Linked DNA regions of Homo sapiens: region 1 is linked to region 2. Evidence: promoter capture Hi-C in human tissues and cell types (Jung and others, 2019). All regions are on one chromosome and are shown on one strand. The core of a region is centred on a gene start or on the middle of the fragment in contact, and the rest is flanking DNA. Distances in the headings are between cores, read along the strand shown. Region 1 overlaps IGF1 (insulin like growth factor 1). Region 2 holds the start of NUP37 (nucleoporin 37).

What was found. Contacts are between HindIII fragments. The study calls those that stand out against the background at their distance.
Region 1: a fragment that was not itself captured here is called in contact with the fragment with the promoter of NUP37 in region 2 in 1 of the 25 tissues and cell types used here (aorta).

The regions. Positions count from the first base shown.
Region 1 is chr12:102,460,521-102,464,511 of GRCh38, forward strand. All of the region lies in intron 2 of IGF1 (insulin like growth factor 1), which reads right to left. LINC02456 (long intergenic non-protein coding RNA 2456) reads left to right here. Exons shown (of 13, transcript XR_007063427.1): 11 at 1-3,991. Among named protein-coding and RNA genes, the nearest start is that of IGF1, 18 kb to the right of the region's middle. The HindIII fragment of the contact is 4,961 bases long and covers 1-3,991 here.
Region 2 is chr12:102,117,606-102,121,863 of GRCh38, forward strand. It overlaps NUP37 (nucleoporin 37), which reads right to left and starts at 2,509. Exons shown (of 10, transcript NM_024057.4): 1 at 2,445-2,509; 2 at 758-978. The coding sequence starts at 913. PARPBP (PARP1 binding protein) reads left to right here and starts at 2,578. Exons shown (of 11, transcript NM_017915.5): 1 at 2,578-2,681. RefSeq lists enhancers at 2,310-2,379, 3,424-3,981. The HindIII fragment of the contact is 7,473 bases long and covers 1-4,258 here.

The DNA of each region.
Region 1 (3,991 bases), core at 512-3,011, 340 kb after region 2:
CAGCTGATGATTCTACAATTAAATTGGGCAGAGCTATAATTTTACTTCCATACATTTTACTAAAGCACCCAGCAAAAGGAATGAGAGAATACTAACAAAGAAACAAACAATAATCTCCATATCCGTCAGATTTCTTAAGGGATTTTAGAGATTTTCATGAACAGCAGTAAACATTCTGGAAAAGGTATTAGAGATTATCTTGTCAACATTAATTCAATGGGTAGAGTGCCAATGAGTCAGGGATATCACTGTATTAAAATAATATGCATTAAATCTAAACAAATCAAATATATAGTTTTGGTCTAAGTCCAATACTATCTTATCCTTGTCAAGAATATAGACAAGAAGTGGCATGTTCTTAAAGTTCAAGTAAAAGATGTGTGAAAACAATGTGAAAACTATATTAGTGACTTTTTTTCCCTGCCAAACTGGGAAGAGAGATCACAATTATCACATTTCAAAGGTGGAATGTCTTGGTTCATTTACGTATCATTGTTTCAATGGCAACAGGTTTTGAGACCCAGGGGATTAATAATCAAATCTACCAAGTTATTTAGTGGTAGAGTTCTGAGTAAATCCAAGATTTTCTAAGTCTCCAATCCAAAGGCCCCCCTTTCTTTTTATTGTCATTTCAAGAAATACAAGTTAAAAACTGGTCCTCTCTCACTTTACCTGCCCTGCTGTGGGACAATGTCCCTTTGAAGAAGCACACCCTTCAGATATCAAGGCCTTCATTAATGACCTTCATTAATGGGCTCAGGCTGGGGAACTTGAGTTTCAGAATGACCCTCGTAAAGACCCGAAGCCAGCTGTATCTCTTTGAAAAGCAGTTTTAAAGTTTACCCTTCACCTTCTGATAGGTGACCAAAATAGACTTTTCTTACCTTAAAACCATTTCTCTAAAATCCCAGTGGGAACCCTCATAGAACTAATTAACTCAGACCCATAAGAAATAATATTAGAATCTGGCTGAGCATAACAAAAGATGAAATTTGATATGAGTAAAACACACATTCGTCCACTTAATGCAATTAGATTTTTTTCTTTTTTTGAAGCACTCTTGCTTGGCTGTTCTTGAAAAATGTAACTATTGAAAAAGAAACTGGCAAGATCTTAAGGACTGGGGCTCAGTTCCTGGCCCCAGTGATGGGCTTGGAAATTGCAGCTACAGCAATTAGAAGTTCCAATTTCCAGTTCACAGAAGGTCAGGCCATGGGGTTATCCTTGGAGCAGTTCTATCATTCCTCTGAGGAAAGGTTCCACCAACTTGAGGGAATCTGGACCAAATACCAGTGAATCAGCATATATATTGTTAATGGCCACAAGCAGGTTTGACCTTAACATCATTTTTGAAATCTGCAGTGACAGTTGATCTTTTTGTACTCTGTCTTATCAAATGTGAGCCACGAATTAGCAAGTACCTCTTACTTCCTGCCATTCTCTAGATGGGGCTTCTCAAACCTTAACACGCATCCAAATCCTGTGGGTATCGGGTTAAAATGCAGATTTTGATTTAATTGGTTTGGGGTCAGGGCCCCTGACTCTGCATTTCTAAAAAGCCCTCAGGTTTCTTTGAGTAGCAAGACTCTATGTCTATGTGTATTTTCACACACTAAGCTTTGTTTTTCCTAAGCAACATTGATACATTCCCCTTAGACAATTTGTTAATCAAACCAATTAGCCCGTTGTAAACAAGAGATACAAGAGATTGTTTCTTGCCACAAAACACTTTCCCTAGCCAGTTTTCAAATCTGGTTTTTCTAAGAGATAGACTTTTCTGTTCTTTATTATTACTGTTGTTTTTGATATGTGTGTTGGGGAGGGAGATCAAAATCATTTATATTCATTGAAACCAATCATCCACTGAATGACTTTAAAACACTAAGTGGCCAGTGTCTACTTCAGAACCAGCCAGAAGTAAGCCTTTCTTTGTCTTTAGCTTACACATCATGATGCTTTTGTGCAATGTTACTGAACCCCCATCTGACTTATCTGGTAAGAGAGATTTTCATAATTGCATGCAAAGCACCGATAATCTACAGAAATGCCAGCCAGATTTGTGGCACTAATACCTTTCACAAGTCTTATGATTCATATGACTCAGGGCCCACAGACTGTCTAACTTAAGGGAAGCCTGAAATGATGCTTATTGTATGTGTGTCATTGATCTTCTCAAAATTCATCCTCAAATATCTGTTCCATACTAGGAGGTAAGAATCAGCAGAAAAGAAGGAATCTTTGGAGAGCCAAAACCATCTCTACACCAAATTGAGAGACTGGAATTATAAGGTGAATGCAATTAACTGGCAGTCGCATCCATGTTGAGAACACAGTCATCCCTTTAATAGAGAACATTTGCTGTGCTTGACAAACTCACAGTGAAATGGTTGGATCCATAGGAAGCAACATGCTGAAAATGGTTTCAATATGATCCTGTTTTTTCACTCAATAGCCATTGATTGAGGGTGTCCAGCCAAAAACAATGAGAAAATGAGCCAACAATAGTCTTACCCTTTGACCATATTAGATAAAGTCGCAGCTGAAATTTGTTATATGTTTCAGGAATAACAAAGCATCCATATGGAACATATATTTGGCAGTGTGGCAGCTGATGAAACCAGGAAAATTAGACAAATTATCAATTGCTCGCTCCCAAATTACCCCAAAAAGAAATTAGATCCATTTTCAGTAGCTTTGCCTTCAAATTTCTTCATTCCGTGAGTCACCACTACCTTCTGCCAAACTAAATATGTCTATGAACGGCTGGAAACTTTAATGGAAAGAAACATAAAACTCAAACTACGTAGGAAAATTTAAGCTTCTTCATGGAAGATCTTCGTGGAAGACTAGCAAGTTAGGAATGTGTGAAGACAGACAACACATCGATAATTCCTTTTGTTTGGGGTCACTTCTGAGTTAGAGAGCAATGCAACATGCTGGCTTGACTTCAAATTAAAATCAGCTTTTTCCTTTATTTCTTTTGTAAGCCTCCAATCCCTCAAACTACTAGGGTTTATTAAGGTACACAGTCCTACAGTCAGGTCGATCAGATTTGGGATAAAGAGACTTCATGATGTTATCCGATGGATGGTAGAAATTAGTAAATGAAGATTTCATGAATGGCTAAGAGCTTAATTTTCTAGAAACTATTCTGAGGTGTTACACCAGAAGAATATGACATAGCAGTTCACTTTGAGTGTATGGACTGTGGTTATGAGCACTACCCTCATATGAGTTTATTGAGGTTAAGTTTAAAGGGTCCAGCTGTGCAAAGAGCTCTGGACCAAGCATGAGGTGACTGAAATGTAGCCTTGGCTTTCCGACCAGTAGCTCCAGCTTTTCCGACCAACTTTTGTGACCTCATGCACATCATGTTTTTTCTGGACCTTGGTCCTTTCATCTGGGAAGTGAGAGCACTGGATCAGATTGCTCTATATGGTTCTTTCTAGCTCTCTAATTTTTCAATTCTGCATTGGCAAATAGAAACCACTTGTAGTGTTCTCTAAGGGCTGGTGCTCCAGCTGTGATTCATACCTTAGCCAGGGATGTACCAGTTGTTGCATACCTTCCCTTGCCCAACACTACTCCTTTTAAATAACTCACATAGAAGTAGAGAGGAACTGAGTGGAGGTTCTGTTCTCACTTTCATAAGTAGACCTTATTGGTGAGGGTCCAGTAGCCTTTGAAAATTACCTGTTGACTAGAGTTAGCTTAATCTTGAGCTAGGCATTTTCAGTGGAGCAGTGGTGAAGGGGTCCTAAGAGGTGACATCTCAAGTAGACTTGTTGACTTTTTTCTCCTATATCTTCAATCTCAGATCCAAAATGATGTCAGTAGCAAATTGTAAGTCATGGTATATATTCTGGGGACTGGAAGAAGGAAATAGCTTTTGGAATGACATTTTCAATATCAAATCAAGAAATTTTATTAAGTGCTCCATACTAGATGCTGTGAAAAACAGGAGGGGGGAAAACCCTTAAAACTTAGTCTG
Region 2 (4,258 bases), core at 1,259-3,758:
ATTAAACCTGAGAGTGTTACCACTGCTCGTATCAATGACAACTAAAACATACATATGGATTACAATGTTGTCAGATGCCCTCTTGGAATTTTTATTTAGTATATTTACATATACTAAAATTCAAGCATTAGTTTCCTCATGTTTACAGGAGATGCTAAATATCTTATTCAAGGTCTCATAGCTAGTAAGAAGTAAGTAAAGCAGGAGTAAACATGTAGGCATTCCAGTTCTAGAATTCATGCTCTTAATGGCTATGCTTAACTGCCTGCTCAATTAATATGACTCCATATTCTGCATACATTAGATGCACAAAAAGTATGACAGCATACTAATAGGAAAGCTGAATATTATAAAAGCTATAAAATCTCCTGGAAGATTGTTTTTTGGGCTCTCAACATTAGCTGGTTTTGTATGTCAAAGCAGGATGTAGAAAAACCGTAATTAATTGGATCTCATTTATATTGTTTTTTTCCTGTACATACCAATGTTCAGTTAATCATAGCCTTCACTTATCAGAATATTCCATTAATGATCATGAGGCAAAAGTGAAGCCTCATACCATTCTTTTTCACTATCTATATAATGTTTACATAAATCTCAGGCACATATAACTGGGAACATCTTTCTCTATGGATCTTATCTTTTTTTTTTTTAACATTCAAACTCAATATACTTTCAAAGTTTAGATTTGGTTTGTGTAAGTTCTCTTAGTAGTGAAATATGTTCACTGTCATTCGGTGCAGTTTTGTAGACTAACCTGAAACGTACACGTGCCAATGACCACATAATTATTGCCACCATATGCAATTAGGTTTCCTGAATCCCCATTCTCAAAGGGATTAAATTCTACCACATGCACATAATCTTCACAATCCACAGTGTAGGCAGCATTTCTTGAGGCATCTTGCTTCATCTTGTATGTCAAAATTCAAGCAGTTGTGAAAATTAAATAGCCTTCTACTGGACAAGGTCACGAAACTGTGGATTAGAGCACAGGTACAATTACAATGGTCAATATGTTAGTCATTCAGCAAATGCATCAAAATAAGGTTGTGGTGTTACAATGAGACAGAAAGCTCAAAAGAAACATTTAAAGTACTTATCAAGGGACAGAAACTGCAGGAAAAATATTAAATCTAGTTATTAATGGTTCCACATTTGCTCCACAGCTCTTTCCCATATCTGTGATTCTAGCAGACAATAACACTGCAAAGTTCTGTTTAGATTATCTAAAACAAATAGTATTTCATCTGAAGATGGAATCATTTTAACAGCAAATGTTAATAAAAATTAATAACTTTTATGAACCACTATTTGTAGGTACCATATTAAGCATTTTACTGACATGATCACATCTGGTATCTGTACAAATCTAAAGGCAGGTACTACCTCTGGTCTCCATTTTGTAGATGGAGAAACTGAGGCTTCAGTAGGTTAACTAACTTGCCAAGCTCATAAGCAGGGCCAGGATTTGGAAGACTTCATTGTGTGTGGAGAACCAGCGCTAATGAAGAAAAAAACAGCCTCCTGGCTTGAAGGAGACCACAGTTTAGGGATAGTTATGACTCAACGTGAAAAGGGCTATAATATAAACAGATAGAAAATACAGGATCTGTTGTTAAGGAGTACCAAAATGTGTGATATAAAAATAATGTTCAGGGGGTTGGGCGGAGGGAGAGCATCAGGATAAATAGCTAATGCATGTGGAGCTTAATACCTAGGTGATGGGTGTGCAAACCACCATAGCACACGTTTTACCTTTGTAATAAACCTGCACGTCCCGCACACGTATCCCGGAACTTAAAAATTAAAATAATAATATTCTTAAAACTAGGCAGAAGACCTTAACCTGTCAGGGACTAGTGTGCATTCTGGAAGTAGCATTCCCACATGAGAATTATGGGTTTTAGAGTTTTTGGTTTTTTAAAAAATTCGACACAAGGGTTGTCCTGAAAACAGCTGGACTCAGTAACAAACATATCAAGCACCTTAAGAGTATGTACTGAGAATGAGTCCCACCTCGAGACGCTTATAAACTAGTAACTTTAGGAATGGACATCAGGGACTGGAGACTTTTGAAGGGTGACCAGCAAGTGTTATGGACACGGAGACAGAGAGGTATAGAAGTGCAAGAGATTCGAGGTCACGAAATTGTTCCGTCCCTACACCTACTGCTCATTAAAGCAGTGGCCGGGGCCTCACCGTACACGTTGGACAGGACTTGCCCCTGTAAAACTACAACGGCAGAGAAGAAGGGAGGGAACAAGATAAGTCTCTGCAATGAGCGCCGACACCTCTCCCCGGGCCAGGCGAGTTCCTCAAGACCCCGCTCCCACCTCCCGGGGCCCGAAGTGGGAAGGAAGAACTCCTGGGAATAGAGTGGCAAGGCTGGGCGGCCGGCAGAAAAGCATCCCGGCCTCTCGGGCTCCCAGCTCGATACGCACCGCAGAGCGCCAGGAACCGACCAGAGGCAGGCTGGTCTTCCTTGGGGGCTGCCGCGACGCGCTGTGGCTCTGCTTCCGGGTCGGAGGGCGAGCGCAGCGATTGGCTCCCGGGGCCTCCCGCGAGGTTTGAACTGTATTCAGCGGCGACAGCGGCGACTGCGGCGGCCGCGGGAGGGCATCCCGTTGGGGATCCTTCCGCACACTGAAGAGTACGTCTTCGGGTCTACCCCTAATCACGTAAGTCTCGCGTCTGCCCTACCTGCCCTGTCGCATTTTTAAGTGGTGATTCAGGCTGTGGCTTTTGAGGGTGTTTTGCACTGTAATACCTCGGTCGTAGCAAAGTGCCGTGGGACCGAAGTATTATGGTGCAGTGACTTGACGCTCGAGCCTGGTTGGGCCTGGGGGCTGTAGGCGGAGTTCACAGTATCTAGCGATGGAGCTGGTAGGTCCTGAGGGTTCGTCTGCAGCTTGGAAGACAGGCCCGTAGAGGCCTGCTTAACTTCCATTAGTTAGGCAGGAAACCTGGGTTCTAGTCCCACTATGTACACGGACTCCAATTCCTCAACTTTCTCCTACTCCTGATTAGTTACAGCCTCCCAAGGAACCTTTGGGACTTGCACTCGAACACTGATAATGATGTTGAGTGCAATTTTTAAATTGAGCACCTACTAAATGCCTGGCACTAGGTGGGTTATGTACTTGTTTCACTAACGTCTCATTCTGTGAGGTAGGAATTCCCTTCCTGGTTTTGCAGGTGAAGAAACTTATGCTCATTAGAGATTTTAAATACCGAAGGACTACAGGTCATAAAGGGGGAGCCTGGAAGTGATATCTGACTCGGAAGTGTAGTTCTTTCAACCATTTCACACTGCCTGCCCAGTGACAATTTTCTGTCTCACAGTTTTTGCTCTAGAGCAACTTGGAATCCAATTTTTTAAAAACAAGTGTTATCGCTGCTGCCTTTGGCTACTGTTTTTTTGTATAGTGCAGCCTGCCATTCAGAGTGCTTGCATATTTATTGTCTCATTGACTTCTCACAAGGGACTGGAAGGCAAGTATTTCTGTGTGATGATGCCTCCACCTAGGAACCACGTGTAAGGCTTATGGCATAGGCTCCCACAGCCAGCTAGCTACAGGAAGAGCTGGGACTAGACCAGGGGTTGGCAAACTGGCTGTGCTGCCTGTTTTTGTGCAGCCAGCTCCTGAGCTAAGAAGGAGTGTTACGTGTTTATATGGTTGGGGGAAAAAATGAAAAGAATAATGTTTTGTGATGTGTAAAAATTACATGAAATTCAAATTTCAGTGTCCATAAAAAAAGTTTTATTGGAGCACAGCTATACTCATTTGTTTGTTTATGTATGTCCATGGCTATTTTCACACTAGAAGGTCAAAGTGAGTAGTTGTGCATGCCTCAAATATTTACTGTTTGTTCCTTTAGAAAAAATTAGCTGATCCCTGAATGAGACTCTTGGTTTTCTGTCACCATAGTAATGCTCTTTTTTTTTTTTTTTTTTTTTTTTTTAAGACAGAGTCTCACTCTGTCACCTAGGCTGGAGTGCAGTAGTGCTATCTTGGCTCACTGCAACTTCCGCCTCCCTGGTTCAAGCGATTCTCCTGTCTCAGCCTCCCAAGTAGCTGGGGTTAGAGGCACACACCACCACACCCAGCTAATTTTTAGTAGACAGGGTTTCACCATGTTGGCCAGGTTGGTCTCGAACTCCTAACCTTAGGTGAGCCTCGGCTTCCCAAAGTGCTGGGATTACAAGTGTGAACCACCATGCCCAGGCAATGCTCTTTTACTTTTAACTCAAAAC